Regions from separate parts of the Homo sapiens genome. Here regions 1 and 2 are each linked to region 3. The links are contacts of gene promoters, found by promoter capture Hi-C in blood cells and fetal thymus (Javierre and others, 2016). All regions are on one chromosome and are shown on one strand. Each heading gives the region's core, a stretch centred on a gene start or on the middle of the fragment in contact. The rest is flanking DNA. Distances are from core to core; before and after follow the strand shown. Region 1 holds the start of SLC11A2 (solute carrier family 11 member 2). Region 2 holds the start of LETMD1 (LETM1 domain containing 1). Region 3 overlaps LARP4 (La ribonucleoprotein 4).

Evidence for each region. The method cuts DNA at HindIII sites, captures the fragments that hold promoters and counts their contacts. A CHiCAGO score of 5 or more calls a contact.
Region 1: the fragment with the promoter of SLC11A2 here is called in contact with a fragment that was not itself captured in region 3 in 2 of 17 cell types (erythroblasts and megakaryocytes); the score reaches 9.1 in erythroblasts.
Region 2: a contact is called between the fragment with the promoter of LETMD1 here and a fragment that was not itself captured in region 3, in 1 of 17 cell types (erythroblasts). The highest score is 5.3, in erythroblasts.

Annotation. Positions count from the first base shown.
Region 1 is chr12:51,024,122-51,027,800 of GRCh38, forward strand. It overlaps SLC11A2 (solute carrier family 11 member 2), which reads right to left and starts at 2,263. Exons shown (of 16, transcript NM_000617.3): 1 at 2,189-2,263. RefSeq lists enhancers at 1,223-1,836, 1,837-2,448 and silencers at 1,854-1,913, 1,924-2,643. The HindIII fragment of the contact is 11,669 bases long and covers 691-3,679 here.
Region 2 is chr12:51,046,611-51,050,062 of GRCh38, forward strand. It overlaps LETMD1 (LETM1 domain containing 1), which reads left to right and starts at 1,717. Exons shown (of 9, transcript NM_015416.5): 1 at 1,717-1,868; 2 at 2,424-2,575. The coding sequence starts at 1,747. RefSeq lists enhancers at 992-1,111, 1,162-1,241, 1,332-1,601, 1,423-1,961, 1,712-1,761 and 1 more. The HindIII fragment of the contact is 4,204 bases long and covers 1-2,431 here.
Region 3 is chr12:50,400,949-50,404,156 of GRCh38, forward strand. It overlaps LARP4 (La ribonucleoprotein 4), which reads left to right. Exons shown (of 16, transcript NM_052879.5): 1 at 1-80. The coding sequence starts at 63. Among named protein-coding and RNA genes, the nearest start is that of LARP4, 1.7 kb to the left of the region's middle. The HindIII fragment of the contact is 1,014 bases long and covers 1,289-2,302 here.

The sequences.
Region 1 (3,679 bases), core at 1,013-3,512, 620 kb after region 3:
AAGTTTCTCATTTTCTGACTAGTTCCTAATAATGCTATGTGTATAAATAGCCGCTTCTTTGAAGGGAAGAATTAGAAGACAAAGCAGTCTTCCACTGGTGTATCCCAGATAGCACCACGAGAATATGAGAAGGCTTTTTAAGGCCATAGGAAGGGCAGATATCTGTCAGCAGACATTTGTACGTATGTGCATGGTGAGGAGGCAGAGAATAAAGATGTCTTTGATTCAACAACACTCACCCAAATTCTTAGCAATGAAAGTCAAACAAGAAAGATCTGGCAGGGCGCGGTGGCTCACACCACCCCAGCACTTCGGAAGGCCGATACAGGTGGATCACTTGAGGTCAGGAGTTCCAGACCAGCCTGGCCAACATGGTGAAACCCCGTCACTACTAAAAATACAAAAAAAATTCGCCAGGCATCAAGAGGCTGAGGCAGGAGAATCGCTTGAACCCGGGAGGCAGAGGTTGCAGTGAGCCGAGATCGCGCTATTACATTCCAGCCTGGGCAACAAGAGCGAAACTCCGTATCAAAAAACGAAAGAAAGAAAGAAAAAGATCCTACTTTGTAGATATAATTCTCTAACCTTCACTGAGTCATAACTGAACCAAAGCTGCCTACTAGCTTTGTAGAGTAATCCAAGGGACCACTGCTGATTTCCTAACATTAGAGTAAGATTAGATTCATAAGAAGCTTCCCCATTCCTTAACAAGAAGTGCTGCCAGGCTACCCAGAAATTCCCCTCCCGAGTCCCACTGCCATTCCGGAAACATGAGAAACCAAGTATGCTGCAATCATGGCCTTTTTAGTACTGGCTCCAAAATAAACTGAGTAGGCCAAGCAAGACTGTCAATGAAATACTGTCCAATGAAAAAATAAACAGCCGAAGGTTTCAGGTTTCATTTACCCAACACAGGTATCACAATAAATGACCTAGTATAATGATAGTTTCCAACCGTATTTAATAAAACAAACACGCAGCAGAAATCCTCTAGTCACATATAACTACACTATACCCTCAGATCAAAGTTAATGATGTCAATGGAAAGTATAGGCCGGCGGGTTCACTGGTGATAAGTCATGAGACTCTGAGCAAAGAATAAGTAATAAGGTTAGAATTCTTTAGAAGTGTTAAGGGGAAAGAAGGTAACAACAACAAAAACTCCTCCACATCAAGAGTTCTAAGTACTTTGTTGTTTATTAACTAATTTCATACCAACAACCCTGTAAGACTGATATTATCAATCCCCATTTTAAGTACGTGGAACAAAAGAAGAAAGAGGCAAACAACATGCTCAAAGATTTACAAAGCCAAGAAATCATGCGAACTGGTGGGGCTTCGGGTTCCAGAAGTCAGTGTAAACATAGCTTCTCCATTTTTCACCAACAGTCACTAAAATTGAGGCCAGCAAGTTTTTAGAAGCCTATCTCCCCTTGCAAACTCTCCTTCCATATAATTTTTGCTTTTGCAAGAGATGTCACATTTAAGCGGTAGCTTTAAAAGTGGGGACACATGAAACGCACAGCTGGGAGAGCCATCCAGCCCACTTACATATGTGCAATATCCCCCTGTAGAAAAACCCTGCTCATTGGAGCCTGGAATCCAGAGGGTCCCTGAGAGCTACACAAACAGCCTTAAAACCAATCTACCCACAATTACTGAGCCGCGTATGCAGGCTATTCACACAGAAGGCGCTCCCTGAAGTCGGTTAGGTTATAATGAGTCTTTTGTTGAAGCGGGGCGGCGGGAGGCCCCGGAGAGCAGCCCGGCCCCCTGCGGCGCCGACGAAGAGGCCACGAAAGACCTTGCCCTGTGCCCGTCGGCCTCTTTCGAGGCGTCGAAGCAGGTCAGCGCACCCCGACACAGGCCGGGCGCGCCATCCGGTGCAGCTGGGAGCTGGGCCATGTGTCCTAGGCCGCGGCGGGGAAGGGGCGAGACCCCCGCGACCTCCGGCGTTCCCTCCCTGCCCCCATCTTTGGGTCTTTCTCTGAATGGCGCGACTCCATCAGTCCTGGACTCTGGGCCTGAGGCCCTCCCTGGCCACACCTCCCCTCACAGCCCCGCACGGCGAGCCGGTGTCGCATCCTAGCCCCGGAGCCTGACCCCCGACACAGGCCCTCGAGCCGCCCCGCGCCCCTCCCTGCCAGCGAGCGGAATGCCGTGACCCCTGACCTTGCCTTCCCCTCACCTTACCAGCTCCGCAACCACCTGACACGCCGCCCCCGCGCCCAGGGCTCCATATTCCGGGAGCCAGCGCCACGCTGGCTAACGCCCTCCCCTCCCCGCGATTGGTCGACAGGACGGCAGCCGCACATCCCTATTGGCTGGAGTCCCTGCAGCGGCCGGGATGCGTGGCCCGCAGACCAGGGACCTAGGCTCCGCCCACGCGGAGTCTGGATGCGGCGGCCCCTGGGGCACGCGGCGGCCCCTGGGGCACCCGGCGGGAGCTGCATGCTGCCTAGTTGCTGCTTGCGTTGGCCAGACCCACACAGCCCCTGGACTGGGGAGCTCCAGTCCGCTAGCAGTCTGGGGACAGATAAGATTCCTGCCCTAGTTCGCCGTGGCGCCACGTTAGGTACTGACAATCAAGCTACGAGGTATAGCTCTATCCTGTAAAGGGTAGCCAGGCCAGGCGCGGAGGCTCACACTTGTAATGCCCAGCACTTTGGGAGACCGAGGCGGGAGGATCACTTGAGTCCAGGAGTTCGATACCAGCCTGGGCAACATAGTGAGACCCGGTCTCTACAAAAAATTTTAAAATTAGCCAAGCAAAGGCCGGGCGCGGTGGCTCACGCCTGTACTCCCAGCACTTTGGAGGGCCCAGGCGGGCGAATCACCTGAGATCGGGAGTTTGAGACCAGCCTGACCAACATGGAGAAACCCCGTCTTTACTAAAAATACAAAATTAGCCGGGCGTGGTGGCGCATGCCTGTAATCCCAGCTACTCGGGAGGCTGAGGCAAGAGAATCGCTTGAACCCGGGAGGCGGAGGTGCAGTGAGCCGAGATCGCGCCATTGCACTCCAGCCTTGGAAACAAGAGCGAAAACTCCGTCTAAAAAAAAAAAAAAATTAGCCAGGCATCACGGCGCCCGCCTGTGGTCCCAGCTACTCGGGGGCTGAGGTGGGAGAATCACTTGGGCCTGGGAGGTGGAGGCTGCGGTGAGACAAGATCGTGCCACTGCACTCCAGCCTGGGTGGCAGAGCAAAACCCTGTCTCAAAAAAAAAGGATAGCCACCTGGAAGGAACATTTCCTCGCGCCCCCAGAGCCACATCATAGTATCTGCTGCCCCACCAAGAGCACCCCACACCTGGGAGGAACCGAGAAACATCAGCTAGTGCAGCCAGTTTGACCGCCTTAGGTGTCCTCCCAAGCCTCCGTAGTGAATTGTTTTCCTCCTCGCCCAGCTGACTCGATTCTCCCCAGACTTCATCCTACCTACCCAAAAGCAATCCCACTCTATCGCCAGTTTCAGCCTCACACCGTATCTTTTGCTCTGAAGATGAGACTGCCAAACTGGTGAAGAGGGAATAAATGGCCTAACAAATTACCGTAATTTTCTGCAATGTCGTTTACAGCCACCAAAAACATTAGATCCTCCCGCCACCCTCACTCCCCGACCCCTCGCACTGCTTACAGCATTAAAGGTAATTGAGCTTCTTTATTCACGTAAAAACAGC
Region 2 (3,452 bases), core at 467-2,966, 650 kb after region 3:
CGAACTCCTGACCTCGGGTAATCAGCCCGCTTCGGCCTCCCAAAGTGCTGGGATTACAGGCATGAGCCACGGCGCCCAGCCGTCTTAGTCAACTTTCTATCCCGTCCACCCCATCTACCCAACACTTGTGAAGATCCAGGGCCATCTTTTAAAACTTTTCCTCTGACTGCACGAGTGGTACAGTCATTAATAACCTGTGCTAATATAAAGCTCTGTGACCCATAAAGCATTATACAGATGTGGGAGCTTTCACAGCTGTATTCTCTTTGGATCCTCAAAGATTTCTTATAAAGTAGGTACTATTATAAGGGAAATAAACTCAGAGCTAAAGTGACATATCCAAGGTAACATTCACTAAAACAAACGTCAATGCCAAGATTGAACCTATATCCAGGGAACCCACATGGGATGCTCTACCACCTTCCATGAAGAATAAATATTCATATATATCCAAGAGGACTGTTAATTCTTGGAGGCAGTTAAGTACCACTTCTGGGAATCCTTCTTAGTTTCAAGTATGAATCTATTCAAACATGTTTACTGAACACCTACTATGTGCTAAGTAAGGCACCTAGTGTTGGAGGTGCAGCAATGAACAAGGCAGAGAAGATGCTTACCCTCATTCTAGTTCAGGGAGCTGTCAAACAAGGACACAAATACATAAACACTGTAAGTGACAGATGCTACAAAGAAAATACAAGGCCGGGTGCAGTGGCTCACGCCTGTAATCCCAGCACTTTGGGAGGCCAAGGCTGGCGGATCACTTGAGGCCAGGAGTTGAAGACCAGCCTGACCAACATAGTGAGATCCCGTCTCTACTAAAAATACAAAAATTAGCCGGGCGTGGTGGCGGACGCCTGTAATCCCAGATACTCGGGAGGCTGAGGCAGGAGAATCGCTTGAACCCGGGAGGCGGAGGCTGCAGTGAGCCAAGATCGCGCCACTGCACTCCAGCCGGGGCGACAGAGCAAAACTGTCACAAAAACAAAACAACAAAACAAAACAAAACAGAGTAACATGAGAATAAGTGTGAAGTGTGTCCTTTTCGCCGGCACTGCTTCAGATAGGGTGGTCACAGAAATCCTCTCAGAATAGTAACATTTAAGTTGAGACAGAGCTTGGTCTTCGGTAGGTGCTTAACGAAAACCATTTTCCCACAAACTTAGTTCTGGAAACGACAAAGAGAGGAAAAAGTGTACTCAGTCCGCACAGGGGCCGCTCCCAGGCCTCCAACCTTCGCCGCCAGACTGACTGGAAAGTGGACAGTTCCCGGCCTATCCACGCCGGCACCATTAGAGGGCGCCGCGGGTCCTCCTAGCCCCAGGCACTGGCAAACTGACATCTGCTACCTAACAGTCGAGGCTCCGACGCCCCGAGTCCAGGCAGAGGGCAAGGGCGGCGCTGGGAAGCCCTGAGGCCCTAAGGAATCGCGGAGGGTCACTGGGCGCCTCAAGGACAGGGTGCCCTCCGCGTCGCAAACCCACACCAGTGGCATAAGAACTCGCTCCCTCTGGGACACCCTGTTTCCGGCGCCTTTAAACCTGGAAGTACTGCTGTGTCCAATCCTGGCCCTCCTTCCGCACTTAGTCTTTGAGTCCTTCCCTCTCCTGGCTTGTGCTGGAGCCAAGCAGGCTATGGCTACCAATCAGCGCTCAGAAAAGACGCATGCGTCTTCGAACGAACGCGACGTACGGTTAACTTTGACCCAAAGACAACCTCTTCTCTCCCGCTTCTCTCGCTGTGAAGATGGCGCTCTCCAGGGTGTGCTGGGCTCGGTCGGCTGTGTGGGGCTCGGCAGTCACCCCTGGACATTTTGTCACCCGGAGGCTGCAACTTGGTCGCTCTGGCCTGGCTTGGGGGGCCCCTCGGTGAGGGACCTGTAGCGAGAAAAGCATTTTTGACGTCCAGGCTCTTTCAGTGTCTCAACCTTGCTTGCATTCTGTCTCTTAATTCTCAGAGTTCCACGCCTTGGCCCTGGAATTTTTATTCTTCTGTTCAGGATTCAAACTCCGATCCCCACTAGTGACCCGGCTTCCTGACCCTCTGTACTCTCAGTGCCCCATATTGTCTGGTTTCCCCGCGTGTCCTGAGCTCATCTTTCAGCCTCACTTTTTCGGCTCAGGTTTTACCGCTGCTATCTCGATTCCACCTCTTTCTGACTTAGCCTGCAGTTCAAATTGTCCCACAGGCATTGCGCTCTCTCCAGAGGCATACCCTGAGTTACTTTCCTGCCTGGCCTTTGCCTGATTTGTGTTTCACAGTCTGATTGCCTATCTCTTCTTGACCCCAAGACCTTCCTTGGATTTCAGAAGTGTCAAGCCTTGGGATACAATCTCCGAGACTCCTGCTTTACATTAGGGACTCAAGGCGTGAGGGAGCTTCTAGGACTGATTCCCAGATAGTCTCTTTGATCTTCCTTGTAGGTCTTCAAAGCTTCACCTTTCTCCAAAGGCAGATGTGAAGAACTTGATGTCTTATGTGGTAACCAAGACAAAAGCGATTAATGGGAAATACCATCGTTTCTTGGGTCGTCATTTCCCCCGCTTCTATGTCCTGTACACAATCTTCATGAAAGGTAAAAACGAAACTACAATAGAAATTCCGGAATCAGCTCTTGGGCAGGGTCAAAGAGTTAGCATAAATAAGATCATTTGCAGGTTCTGCTATGGGGATGTGAGCCGAGATATCTTATATTTCATAAATGCCTGCGCCTTAAACTAATTCCTATAAATTAGCACTTCTTGAGAATGTTTCTAGAAAGATGTTATGAGAAACAACTTATGACAGCAACATGAGGGAGGGAGAATATAGGTATGTTCTCGTACTTTCTTAACCACACACCTGGCTATAGTAGAAATTTTTTGCCTTGCACACGGCAGGGATCTGTGGCTGTATAGACCTGCCCTGTGATGTATCAGTTGACTTACCCATAGGAAAATGAGGTCTAACCCTTGTTATGAATCTATATTAGGTAGTATGTTGTAGTGGCAATAGCCCTACATAATACTTGGTTTCTAAATGTTTTGTTTCAAATCAGAGATCCTTAGTTACTAGGAGAAGATATGTATCGTGTCAAGTGTCTACTCTGGAGCCAGATTGCCTGATTCAAATCCCAGTTCGTCACTGTGCGATTGGACTAATTAATTAACCCCTCTTTCCTTGGTTTTCTTATGTGTAAAATGGGAGTAATGGAACCTACCTATTTATCACATGATTGTGAAGACTTTAAAAATTGATACATGTAAAGTACCTAGAACAGGTCCTGATCCCTAGTAAGTGCCAAGTAAATGTTAACTTATTTTCATCTAAATGTTACCTAACAGTATTATAAGTTGGTGCAAAAGTAATTGCGGCTTTTGGCTTTCAGTGGCAAAAACCACAATTGCTTTTGCACCAAATCTATAATATGCTCTATGCTTTTATCATAACACTATAATAAACTACATTGTCAA
Region 3 (3,208 bases), core at 546-3,045:
GCGGGCCTGTGAGCCAGTTGGAGTTGCGGCGGCGGGAACGATTGGGCTGAGCAGAGGACGACATGTTGCTTTTCGTGGAGGTGAGTGCATTATGCTAGTCTCGTCCTGCTCTTAGGAGAGCAGGAGTGTAGAGGCGCCGGCCGGTCCCACCGCCATGTGACTTTCCGGGCCGTACACGCCGCGGAACCGGCAGATAGGCTGACACAGCACCTGGGCCGAGCAGGCCTGCAGCTTCCCTCTGCGCGCTCACAACACTCTAGGAAGCTATGGGAGGTGAGGCCCGTAGTGGAGAAGAATTGAAGGAGAAAAACGGAGGGCTGTTCTGGTGTGGCGGTGAGGTTCAGAGGAAGGGGAAAGTGTCCCATATGGACCTCCTAAAGGAGGCAGCATTGGGGGGTTGGGGGGCGGAGTCTGAGGGAGGAGAGGGTAATCAGGTGGGCGCGTTCCGGGGGCCGAGCGCGGCCTCGCGGGGCCCCTCTGGGAGGGAGGCGAGCAACATGTGGGGCCACGGATGGAGAAAGGTGAAATGCGGTAAGTATTTTGAAAAGAAAATTGAAAAGTTCTTTTGAGCAACTTCCACCAAATTCTGCCCGGGCCCCGTCCCTAGGTCTCTGGAACGTTCTGTGGGTGAAAGCGAGTTACTTTGAATCGAGGAGAAGCCAGTAGGGTTTGGAAGCCTTGAAAGGCACCGCTTTGACCTTTTGTAAAAGTTACTCAAGCAGCAGCTGCGTGATGAAGGGTTGGTTCTATGAACCGATTAAAAGCCCTTTACAAGGAAAATTCCAAGAATGAGGGAAACTTATTCCGGGAAAAGCCGTTTTTTGTAATGTTATTTGAACAATGAGACACTTTTATTACTTAAACTAGAACGTCTGCTGTTGGCCTATTTTAGTTTTCAAGATAGAGTTGGATACCTGCCTTACAGAAATACGAAATTTAATTTCCCTTAATTCTGTCCTCTTGTGTGCAGTGAGCGTCAGCTGACTGCCTGGCTAATGCTTTGAGTAGATTCCAGATCATATTGTTCTTACATTGTGAAAACGTCAAACCAGCAAAGCTGCAACTTCGCAACTTGGCATTTGTTAACTATGCCCATAAGAAGAATCTTTTCAATGAGGGAAGGAATTTACGGGTTGTATAATGAATCTAGGAGCCGGGGCCAGCCTATGGCAGATTTTTTTTTCCGGGTTGTGGGAAAATCTTACTCCGTAATATTCCAGCATAAAGTAAATAAATGATTTTACGGTTTTTTTTTCTCTTTAAACTAACTGATATTGTGTCGCCGATAAGCTTGATATCTTTAAATTAGTTTTTTAAAAGACTGCTACATTAGAGTGTATCTAACATTCATAATAAACATTCATTGGAACATTCCGGGGAAATCATGAAAAGACTTAAAATTACTGAACTCATTCTGTTTACTGTTTTCTGTCCTCATTGTTGTTTTCCTTAGGCAGAATAAGAAATCAGATAAGATTTTAAGCCAGTGCCAGCCAGTTTTTTTAAGGAATGTTATGCTATGTAAATACCACAGGTTTTAAGTGTGTGTTTTGCTGGGCAGAAGAAAGATTGTGAAGTTTATATTGACAGGAACTCCACAATATACTTTTGACTTCCAAATTGATTCCTTTGGCTTTATTAAAATGTAAGTTTTAATAACAGCTCCATTTATTGTTTAAACTAGGTCTTCTCCTGTCTCTAAAGCGATACTTAATATGTTTTACAGATGACAAAACCGAGCCCCAGAGGTTAAAGTAACTTTACTTAGTAAAAGTAAAGTAGTTTAACTGGGATTTAGATCCAGGTCATGCTGATGTCAAATCATGGACGGGATGTTAGCAATTCAGGCCTGTCCGACTCCCCAGGTTAGACAAATTCTATCGTATCTCTCGCCAAACTAGTGTTTAAAAGTTGTATCTCCATTAATCATTTTCTTTGTGAGTCACTATGTCATTCTTCATTTTCTCATATGAGTTTTATTGAAAATTAACTGTCTTTAAATATTTGGGGCTGAATATGTGGTATTAAAATCAGTGAAAAACAACATGTTGGTCGTTTGGCGTTTTGTTAACTAATATTTGATCCCTGTAACCTCATGATAGAGGAATTATTCTCAGTGAGAGAACCAAAGCTCAGAAGTTAGATGTCTAAGGTCATTCAAGTGTAAATAATGTGGGGGCTAAAGTCTGAAGTCTGACTTCTAGAACATAAATTTCTGGCTTCAAAATTATTTTTGTACTTTCCCATAAGTCAAAGGTTCTTAATCTAGGTTTTTGGATAGAATTGAGGAAGTAAGTACCTAAGCTTGGTTGAGGAAAAAAATTTGCGTGTTTATTTTCTCTAGCTTCTAACTGAAATCTAAATGGAAAAGAAGTGAAAATTCTTTAAATGTTAATGGCAGCAACAGTGTATGTGACCTTGTCACCAAGACAAATCACTTTTTTACATGTATTACAGCTTTTGCAGTTATCTTGAAATATTTATGCTCATTACTTGCTATATGTCAAAAATATTGTTAACGTATTGCTATATTAGACATTTTAAAATATTTTGATAACTGCGTTTCAATATAATTGGTTTACTTTGTGATCCTATATATTTTAGAAATGTAAAAAAACGGAGAAGAGATCCATAGATTAATTGGACTACTAAAGAGGTCTGTGTCACAGAAGAGGTTAAGAACTGCTTTACTAAACCAACTTGCTTGTGGATCATCTTTGGCAGGGTTAATCTGGGATCCCTGGGTCCTCTGCAGTTGTGTTCAATACCTTTTACTTATGTGTATTTTTCTGGAGAGATTCCAGCTTAACTATCCCACTAGAATCAGTAGGATAGATAATAGCAATATAACAATAACAACAGTAGTAGTATATACTTGTATCGTGCTTTGTGTCAGGAACGTTTGATGTTTTTGCATATATAGATATCTGTACATCTTAAGTCTCAATATCTCTATGAGGTGTTAGTATCCCCATTTTAGTGATAAGTAAGGCAGCTGGGCGCAGTGGCTCATGCCTGTAATCCCAGCACTTTGGGAGGCTGAGGTGGGTGGCAAATCACCTGAGGTCAGGAGTTTGAGATCAGCCTGGCCAACATGGTGAAACCCCATCTCTACTAAAAATACAAAAATTAGCCAGAGGTGGTGGCACACACCTGTAATCCTAGCTACTCGGGAGGCTAAGGTAGGAGAATCGCTTGAACCTGGGAG